Regions from separate parts of the Homo sapiens genome. Here regions 1 and 3 are each linked to region 2. Evidence: promoter capture Hi-C in human tissues and cell types (Jung and others, 2019). All regions are on one chromosome and are shown on one strand. Each heading gives the region's core, a stretch centred on a gene start or on the middle of the fragment in contact. The rest is flanking DNA. Distances are from core to core; before and after follow the strand shown.

What was found. The method cuts DNA at HindIII sites, captures the fragments that hold promoters and counts their contacts. A contact is called where the count stands out against the background at its distance.
Region 1: a fragment that was not itself captured here is called in contact with the fragment with the promoter of BCAM in region 2 in 1 of the 25 tissues and cell types used here (lymphoblastoid cells).
Region 3: the fragment with the promoter of IGSF23 here is called in contact with the fragment with the promoter of BCAM in region 2 in 4 of the 25 tissues and cell types used here (IMR-90 fibroblasts, adrenal gland, liver and 1 more).

Annotation. Positions count from the first base shown.
Region 1 is chr19:44,635,602-44,639,061 of GRCh38, reverse strand. It overlaps IGSF23 (immunoglobulin superfamily member 23), which reads right to left. Exons shown (of 5, transcript NM_001205280.2): 5 at 2,281-2,643. Among named protein-coding and RNA genes, the nearest start is that of PVR, 6.6 kb to the left of the region's middle. RefSeq lists an enhancer at 2,019-2,313. The HindIII fragment of the contact is 6,031 bases long and covers 1-3,460 here.
Region 2 is chr19:44,807,103-44,810,527 of GRCh38, reverse strand. It overlaps BCAM (basal cell adhesion molecule (Lutheran blood group)), which reads right to left and starts at 1,425. Exons shown (of 15, transcript NM_005581.5): 1 at 1,322-1,425. The coding sequence starts at 1,403. The HindIII fragment of the contact is 22,699 bases long and covers 1-3,425 here.
Region 3 is chr19:44,612,304-44,615,617 of GRCh38, reverse strand. It overlaps IGSF23 (immunoglobulin superfamily member 23), which reads right to left and starts at 2,055. Exons shown (of 5, transcript NM_001205280.2): 1 at 1,848-2,055. The coding sequence starts at 1,972. RefSeq lists an enhancer at 142-643. The HindIII fragment of the contact is 19,410 bases long and covers 1-3,314 here.

The DNA of each region.
Region 1 (3,460 bases), core at 113-2,612, 170 kb after region 2:
CCCCCACACTTTTGAGGTCAGGAGTTCAAGACCAGCCTGGCCAACATGGTGAAACCCCATCTGTACTAAAAACACAAAAATTAGCTGGGTGGTAGTCGTGCACACCTGTAATCCCAGCTACTTGGGAGGCTGAATCACTTGAGGTGGAGGTTACAGTGAGTCAACGTCATGCCACTGCATTCCAGTCTGGGCAACAGAGTGAGACTCTGTCTCAAAAAAAAAAAAAAAAAAAAAAGAAATATATGGTCTAAAAAGTTATTTATTTAACTGCTCAACAAATGGCAGCAATTATTATTGATGTCTCCTGGGGCTTATGATTCTTTATCTGAAAAATGGGCATAGCATGGCACAGTGGCTCAAACCTGAAATCTCAGCACTTTGGCAGGCTGAAGTGGGAGGACTGTTTGAGAAGAACGCATTAAAGCTCTTTGGTGCGATGCCTGACAATTACCACTATGGAGACGTGGCTGCTCTTTAAACAATTTTTAAAATTTTTTTATTTTTGGCAGAGTCTTGCTCTGCTGCCCAGGCTGAAGTACAGTGGCACAATCTTGGTTCACTGCAACCTCTGCCTCCCGGGTTCAAGCGATTCTCATGCTTCAGCCTCCCAAGTAGCTGGGATTACAGGCCCGCACCACCACGCCTGGCTAATTTTTTTTGCATTTTTAGCAGACAAGGTTTCGCCATGTTGGCCAGGCTGGTCTTGAACTCCTGAGCTCAGCTCAGTCAATCCATCTGCCTCGGCCTCCCAAAGTGCTAGGATTACAGCTGTGAGCCACTGTGCCCGGCCAAAAAAATTTTAATTTTTAAATTTTATTTTTCTTAAACACCAACTCCAACCAGAAGACCTGGCTGCTCTTTTATTTATTTATTTTTTTTTTTGAGACGGAGTCTCGCTCTGTTGCCCAGGCTGCAGTGCAGTGGTAACGATCTTGGCTCACTGCAAGCTCCACCTCCCGGGTTCACGCCATTCTTCTGCCTCAGCCTCCCGAGTAGCTGGGACTACAGGCTCCTGCCACCACGCCAGCTAATTTTTTGTATTTTTAGTAGAGACAGGGTTTCACTGTATTAGCCAGGATGGTCTTGATCTCCTGACCTCGTGATCTGCCTGCCTCACCTCCCAAAGTGCTGGGATTACAGGCGTGAGCCACCGTGCCCGGCCATCTGGCTGCTCTTGTTATTAATGATCTTAATGTTGTTCTCTAGTACAGCTGACCCCTCCCTCACCAGGAAGCCCTCCTGGATCCTCCAGTCTCCATTAAGACTCCCCCCTGGCCTCCCAGAGGAGAGTGATGACTCTGGGTCATCACTGGGAACAGGTCTGTCTCCCTCACTGTACTATAAGCCCTAGGAGGGCAGGCCCAGGGCTGCTGTGGTCACCTCTTGAGGCAGGAGAATAGGGAATTAGGGTAACCAAGGGTAAAGCCATAAGCAAAAGAACGCAGGTACACCTAGTTCTAGGCAAGATTAGGCAGCACACAAGCCACATCCCCATTCGTGTGATAACAAGGGACAGGGTTTCACCATGTTGCCATGCTGGTCTTGAATTCCTGACCTCAGGTGATCTGCCCGCCTTGGCCTCCCAAAATGCTGGGATTACAGGCGTGAGTCACCGTGCCTGGCTAACATCTCTTACTTATTTTATTTTATTTTTGAGATACTGTCACTCCCTCACCCAGGCTGGAGCACAGTGGCCATGATCTCGGCTCACTGAAACCTCTGCCTCCTGGGTTCAAGTGGTTCTCCTGCCTGAGCCTCCCCGGTAGCTGGGATTATAGGCATGTGCCCCCACATCCGGCCAATTTTTGTATTTTTAGTAGAGATGGGGTTTCACTATGTTGGCCAGGCTGGTCTTGAACTCCTGACCTCAGGTGAGCCACCTGCCTTGGCCTCCCAAAGTGGTGGGATTACAGGTGTGAGCCACTGCGCCTGGCCTGCTATGACACATTAATCATGTAAGGTAAATAGTCAGTGGCTGGCACATGGAGAGCCCTCAACAGACAAGACTTGGACTCAGTTCTGCTACTATTATTGCTAAGCAGAATGCCATGTTAGGTGGTTCTGTGTTGGTCACAGAAGCACCGAATTTTCCTCAAATGTGAGATATATCCCCCAGAGGAGTTTCAGCCATACTTGTGTGCCCTGTGCCTGCTATCTGTCAGGATCCTCCTATGGAGAGGTATTAAACTTGAACAGTGCAAAGCTCAAAGGTTGATCTTATTTGCAAACATGCCTCTCCCACTCTCAGGAAGAGAGGCTTCATGAGAAACCATTCAGAAGTGGTGGTGTTTTAATTTATTTTTTGGTTCTTTTTGAAAAAGAGAAAAAAAAAGCAGCATGTGTAAAAGACATATTTTGGGGTCTGGCCAATTTCCAAGGTAAAACCTCCCCCCTGTTTTCTGAGCACTGAGCTCCCACAGACAGGGATGAGCCTCTGATGCTTTGCTTGCACAACGTGTCACGGCGATGGGACCAAGGATGGCACCGAGTCAACCCATCAGATGTTTTCTTCAGGTGTTTCAGAAACAGGGCAAAGGGAGTCTGGTTACGTTGGGTTGTTCCCTTGAACAGAGATGTTGTAGACTTGGAAGCTATGGGATGGGTTTTTTTTTCCACGTGGATAGAGAGGTACAAAGCACCCATCTGCAGAGAGAGACAGAGAACTGTAAATTCCACATGCAGGAGGAAAGGAATTGTAAGGGCTTGGGGTGGGGGTGAAGTGTGTGTGTGGGGGAGGCTGGCAGAGAGAGCTGTGTGTACTTCCACATTTCTTCGTAGATTGCAAAAATGGCCACAGATTTTTCCCTTCTTAGCAAGAGGTGGAGTCAACTTCCCCATCCCTTGAATTTGGCCAGTCATGTAACTTTGGCCAATGAAGTCCTTTCTGTGGCAGAAGTGATGGCATGTCCATTTTGAGCTTGAGACTTAAGGGGCCTTGAAGTTTCTGCTGTTACTCTTGGAATCCTGCCTCTGCCATGTGAACAAGCTTGGGTCACCCTGCTGGAGGATGAGAGACAACATGAAGGAGAGGCCAGTTGTCCCAGCTATGAGGCTATCCTAGTCCAGACAGCCCCTGGGCAATCTGTCAACTGACCCCAGATGCAGGAGCGAGCCTGGCAGAGACCAGAACTACCCAGCTGAGCCCAGCCCAAATGGATGACCCATGAAATTGCAAGCTAAATAAATGGCTGTTGTTTCAAGCCAGTGAATTTTGGGGAGGCAGTTTGTTACAAAGCAAATGCTGACTCACACCTATGGATTGCTGAAAAATTTCATAGGTCCTTATATTAAACTGTTCATTTTATTTTTTCCTGAGCTACGTCAGTGAGTTTCTTTTGCATGGAGCCCAAGAGGTTTATGAAATATAGACTGCTTGTTTAGGCAGCTTCCAGGAATTTGATGAGCTGGGCAGATGGGGTGCTGGCAGTTGGCAAAAGAAGAGAAAAGCAGCTCCTGGAGC
Region 2 (3,425 bases), core at 176-2,675:
CTTCCGCTCTCCCATGAGTGAGGGGCTGGGGTGTGGGCTGCGGCTGGGCCCGGAGCTTAGGCGGGATGGATGTGTGGGGGCGGTGAGGGGGGACAGGGCTGGGCAGGTTTCAGGAATGTGGGAGGGACAGGCTGGCTGAGACCTGCCCGGCCTGGAGCCAGAGCCCCCAGCCGCCTCTTGGCCCCCCTCAGTTTGATACAACAGCAAACGGGATAAGTCGAGTCATCTTGCAAAAGGATAAGGTTGAGGCCCAGGATCTTGGGAAGCTGGGCACCTGGACTCCTGGGATCAGAGGGAAGAGGAGGCTGGGGCCTGGTGGAGTAGTTATTGTAGAAAAACCACCACCCTCCCTCACCCTCTGGGCTGGCATCCTGGCATCAGCTCTCAGTGCTTCTTAGAAACTCCCTTCCCTTCTCTGCTCAATCTGGCCCAGCCCTACCCCTGGGGACCCACTGTTGACCATGAGTGTGCCAGGGGCCTGGATTCCCAAGCGCTCACCTCTGGCCCCAGCCTGTCCCCAGGGAGGGGTGACGGGGTCCAGGCTGGTGCCTAAGGCTGGGTCTGATCTGCAGACAAGTGGAGGCAGAGAGTTCCTCTCTCTTCCCCAATCTCTCTCATCTCTCTGTCCCTCTGTCCCCAGCACCCCCACCCCCACCCCCCAGCCCCCGGCCTCCTCTCCTTCTATCCTCATGCAGGTGTGTAAATGTAGCTGAGGCCCCAGGAAGGGGGCCTGTCACTTGGAAACACTTTGTTCCACTGTCACTGCCCGGGGCTGGTGCTCCAGCCCTTTCCTGAGGGAGGCGGGTTCTTTATACTGGACTCTGGAAACTCCTAAATACATGTGGATCGCTGGTGTGGGGACACATGGTCCTCGCTTCTCTAAGGGGTCCCTGGACCTCTCAAAACTTGAGGACCTTTGAGGGAGAGAGCCCTGGGGTTTTGATCCTCTGTGCCCTGGGGGAAGCTATTCTAGCCACTGGAGGCCTGGACTCCTGGGTCTGAGGAAAGAGGGGCTGGGGGCCCAGATTCCAGGGTCTGAGGGAGGAGGCAGGTGGGACCCAGATTCCAGGGTGCTGAGTGGGAAGGGGGCTGACTTCTCTGGTTGTCTCTGATCCACCGCCTGGGTATCCCCAGCTCTCCTGCCTGGCTGTCCCCAGATCTCTCTCACTGGAAGGCGTACCTTCCAACACTCCCATATCCCTCCTCCTTGGGGTCCCCACATTTTGCTTCCTGGGGTCAGGGTAAAGCCCTTTCTCCTCGCTTTCCCGGGGTCCCCAGGGGCCTCTCCCCAGTCCCACCTTGCCCTCAGCCCGAGCCATACCTGGGTGCGCCGCCAGCAGGACTGCGAGCAACAGCAGCCGCGGGGCCCCGCGCGCCTGGGCCGGTGCGTCCGGGGGCTCCATGTTCACGGCGGCGGCGGAGACTGAGCCCGGGCTGCAGCTCGGCCGCTGCGGGGCTGGGAGCCAGAGGCCCCGCCCCCGGCAGCCCCGCCCCGCCCCGCCCTCCAGGCCCCCCTCGTCCCCCGATGCCCGGGCGCGGGGCCAGGACCTCCCACTGCCCGGAGCGGACCTCCCAGTGCACGGGGCCAGGCTCGGGGCTCGTCCGCCCCCAAGCCTAGAGCTGTCCGGGCTTACTGACCAGCGCCTGCAGCGGGGGGCCTGATCGACCAGCGTAGCCAGTGACCCGAGCTGGGATCTCACCAGGCAATCGCGGACCTTCTCCTCGTTATTCTGACCAGGGGCCTTGGGGACTCGTCCCCACTGTGACCAGCAGCCTGGGCTGGCATCGTCGATTTTAACCAGAGGACCCCACTGCAACCTGTGGCCTGCGATGGCCTCTCCCAGTGTAACTAATGGCCCCAAGCGTGCCGTCCGAGTGGCCTGCACTGGCCTCTCCCAGTCCAACCAGTGACCCCCGCAGCCTGACCAGTGGCCCCCAGCAGCTGCTCCCAGTATGCCCGGAGATGTTTTCCCCTGTGGTCAGTGCTCTGGGCTGCTTTCCTCGTCTGACCAGTAGCCTGGAATCAACCGGTTTAATCTCTTATTTTCAATGGTCTTCAAATCCAGGTCCTCCTAGGCCGCTTCGATGATGGGGCTGGGGGTGGGGTACGGGGTGCCCTCTCTGCTTGCTCACCCATGGAAGGCCCTCCCACTCTTCCCCCTATCCAGGGAATCCCAGGAATGCCACCCTCCCTTCCTCCTTCCCGCTCTCTCCTTCATTCCCTCCCAACCTTGTGGGGAAGGGAGGAGTCAGACTGGCCAGAGCAGGTGAGGAGGGCAGGGGAAGAGGCCAGGGCACCTGCGGGAAGGGGGAGGAGTCCAGCCACTGCTAGGAAGCGTGGGTCACAGGTCCGACTGCCCAAGGCCCCTACAGGCCAGGTCAGACTGGGACAAAATCCCCCACTAGATGTCACTAGTTGCCCAGGACAGTGGTCAGAACGTGGGAGGGTGGGGGGTCGCTGGCCACACTGGGAGAGGTTACCCAAGCTTCTGATCAGCCTGGGGGTTGAGGTAGCCCTGGAGCTGGGCTTTGCCTGCTCAGACATACAGAGAAGGCTTGGATTACAGGTCAGCCTGGGAGTTATTAGACTGGTCAAGGTTACTTTATCCATTGGTCATACAGGAGACCAACGTTTTTTTTGTTTGTTTGTTTTGTTTTTGACAGGGTCTCGCTCTGTTGCCCAGCCGGGAATGCAGTGGGCGCAATCATAGCTCATTCAAACCTCAACCGCCTGGGCTCAAGCAATCCTTCCACTTCAGCCTCCCAAGTAGCTGGGACTATAGGCTTGTGTTACCATGTCCAGCTAATTTTTGTATTTTTTTGGTAATAGAAACAGGGTATTACTATGTTGCCCAGGCTGGTCTCCAACTCTTGGGCTCAAGTGATCCTCCTGCCTTCCAAAGTGCTGGGATTACAGGCATGAGCCACTGCATCCATCCTACAGAGCAACTGTTACATTGGGAAAGACCTTTTAGGATTAACTGTACCATCCCCTCCTCCAGGAAGTCCCCTCTGCCTTCCCTGGCTGGGTCAGGTTCCCCCTCTGGGCTCCCCCACCTGAGCCCGGCACACTCTGGGGGTCCCTGGCTGGGGATAGGTCTGTCTCCCTCAGTGGACTGTGAGCCTGTGAGGGCAGGGCCAGGGATGTCTTGATCACTGTGGTGAGCTAAGGGCTCCTCCCCTGGGCACCCCGCCCAGCACAAGACCAGACACAGTGCAGGTGCTCAGGGAAGGTTTGTTTGCAAGGCACACAAACTCACGTGCAGATTCCATCCAGACTGGAGCATCCCAGGATATACAATACAAACTCACTCATGGGGAATGCGGCGGCACTCCAAGACAGTCCCAGGTGCTGTCAAGCTCACACACTGTGAGCACCGACACCCATACCCTAGCTCTTCTGTCCCCAGCCTGTGCACCTTCTG
Region 3 (3,314 bases), core at 806-3,305, 200 kb after region 2:
GAGTTTCGCTCTTGTTGCTCAGGCTGGAGTGCAATGGCACCATCTCAGCTAACCGCAACCTCCGCCTCCTGGGTTCAAGCAATTCTCCTGCCTCAGCCTCCCAAGTAGCTGGGATTACAGGCATGCACCACCACGCCCAGCTAATTTTCTGTTTTTAGTAGAGACGGGGTTTCTCCATGTTGGTCAGGCTGGTCTTGAATTCCTGACCTCAGATGATCCGCCCGCCTTGGCCTCCCAAAGTGCTGGGATTACAGCACTTTGTAATCCCAGCCACTGCACCCGTGAGCCACTGCACCCGGCTCAGAACTGAACTTTATTTATTTATTTTTGAGACGGAGTCGTGCTCTGTCGCCCAGGCTGGAGTGCAGTGGCACGATCTTGGCTCACTGCAAGCTCCGCCTCCCGGGTTCACGCCATTCTCCTGCCTCAGCCTTCTGAGTAGCTGGGACTACAGGCGCCCGCCACCAGGCCTGGCTAATTTTTTGTATTTTTAGTAGAGACGGGGTTTCACCGTGTTAGCCAGGATGGTCTCGATCTCCTGACCTCGTGATCCGCCTGCCTCGGCCTCCCAAAGTGCTGGGATTACAGGTGTGAGTCACCGCGCCCAACTCAGAAGTGAACTTTTAAGACCTGGATAAGGAAGCAATTCATTCACTATCTGAGAGGCAGATGTGTGTGGTCTCTGGAAAGTGTGGTCTGGGAAGCCAGCCCATCTGGCTTCAAATCTTCAGTCTGCCACTTCCAAGTGTGTGACCTGGAGAGGGCACATGACCTCTCTGAACCTCAGTTTCCCCTTCTGTGAAATAGGGATCGTACAGCTCTGATCTCAAAGAGTTGTGATAAGAGGTAAATGTTACTATAGGAAAGCACTTAGAACGGGCTGACAGGCTGGGCGCAGTGGCTCACGCCTGTAATCCTGGCACTTGGGGAGGCCGAGGCAGGAGGATCGCTTGAGCCCAGGAGTTCGAGACTAGCCTGGGCAACATAGTAAGACCTCATCTCTACTAAAAATAAAAAATTAGCTGGGTTTGGTGGCGCATACCTATGGTCCCAGCTACGCAGGACGCTGAGGCAGGAGAACAGCTTCAGCCCAGCAGGTTGAAGCTGCAATGAGTCATTATCGGGCCACTGCACTGTAGCCTGGACAACAGAGCAAGACCTTGTCTCAAAACAAAACAAAACAAAAAAACAAAAACCCCAAACAGGCTGGTATATAGATCTATTCAGTTACAGTGACCTTCTATTACGGCTGTTATTATTTTATGATTGTTATTATTTATATGTATTATTACTAAGTTGCGGATTGCAGGGGTGAGACAGGGCATTCTGGTGGAAGGGGGCTGGGCTGGGGTCCCAAATTCTGATCCTGCCCCTTGCCAGCCCTGTGATCTTGGGTAGGTGACCTGTTCTCCTCTTTGCGCCTCACTTCCCTTCTTCCTAAAAGAAGCCAATAGGGTCATCTCTTGTGGCGGAGTGGCCTTCAAGAGTTCTCATGAGTTGGGTGCCTGAGCTGCATGGGCCTCAAACTGACAGGGTCAAAGCTCTGAGTGGGGGTGACTTGGACTCGTAAGGAGACACTCTCCTCCTTGTCCCTGGCCCGTGGTGAAGCCGCTGTCTCCAACGCACCTGTTAAAAGCAGCTTCCTCCAGGTAGGGGTGTGGCTGGAGCTGACGTCCAGAGGACCCCTCATCTCGTGTTCTGTCCAGGGACTGTGCAGAGAAGGTCTCCTCATCACACATGGGGTCTTCATAGACCTGTACAGTCGCGTCTGCAGCCCCGGCCTCACCCTGCAGGACCCTGCTCACGATGACCATGCCCTACCCTGGCCACTTCCCCACATGACTTACACCAAGTTGGCTGGGAAGTCACCTCCAGCCGCATCCTTCTCTAGCATCGGGTCAGTGGTGGTGGTGGGTGGGGACCAGGCTGGGACAGGGTTCCTGGGAAGGGGGCTCTGAGGTTTTGCTCTCATTCTCTCACCGTACAATCCCCGCCGGGAGATGGAGGGAGAAGCAGAATCGCCCGCTCCTATCACTCACATCAAAGGCAAGGAATGGCCAAAGGTCAACCTGGTAGGAGGTGACGGGGCTTTGGACTCTGAACCACAGCTTTTCTCCTCTGTAAAATGGAGGCGTTAATAATAGTGCCTGCCCCAGAGTCAGACAGGGCCGTGGACACAAGGTGCTTGGAGTAGTGCCTGGTCACGTAGTAGGCGCTCAACGAATGGCAGTCACTATGAAGTCAATGCTAATTATAATTTGGTGTCTAGGATGTCCTGGAGGCATGTTTAGAATCCCGTTATCAGGAGCTTGCTCAGACTATATCCTGAATTTTAGATTCTAGAAGGATAAGCTACACTAGCTACTTTTTCCTCACCCTTCTCACTCCCCAGGTCCATTCTTTCCTCCTCAAATTAATAATTATATTACTCAAACTAATAGCTGGTGTTTATTGAACACCTACTATATGCCGGACACAGCATTAACCTTGTAACAGGGTTGCCTAATTTGAATCCTCATAGCAACCTCGAGGGGTAGATATGAGCATCCCCATTTTCTCGTGGTGCACAGGGGCTAAGTAACTCACCTACCATCACACAACCGTTCACAGGGGCTTTCTGCCAGTTTTTGGAGGCACCAGCTCAGGGGCTTTGCATGAGCCGTTCCCTCTCCTTAGAACCTTACTCATGTAATCTCAAAGCTGACTGTATCTTATTATTTTGGCTTAATTCACACACATCACTCTATCAAAAAGGCCTTTCTTAATGCCTGCTGCAACTCAGTTCCCCACCTCTTTGCTAGCAAGCCACACTGTTTTGTTTTCTTTACATCATTTACCGCTATTTTAGATGATTTATTTATTTGTCCACTTGTATTATCTGTCTCTCCCTCCTTAGTCCCACCTCTCCGACTTGAATATCAGATCCAGGAGGGCAGGGATGTTGTCTGGCTTGTGGCTATGTCCCTAGTGACTAGAACAGTGCCTTGCATATAACAGGTGCTCAATACATGTTTTTGTTTTTGAGACGGGGTCTCACTCTGTCAGCCAGGCTGGAGTGCAGTGGCACGGTCATAGCTCACTGCAGCTTCAACCTTTTGGATTCAAGCAATAATCCTGCCTCAGTCTCCTGAGTAGCTGGGACTACAGTCTCACACTACCATTCCCAGCCAATTAAATTTTTTTTCTTTTTGTAGAAATAGAGTTTCACTATATTACCCAGGCTGGTCTCAAACTTCTGGGCTCAAGTGATCCTCCTGCCTCAGCCTCCCAGAGTGCTGGGATTACAGGCATGAACCACCTAGCCAGCCTACATG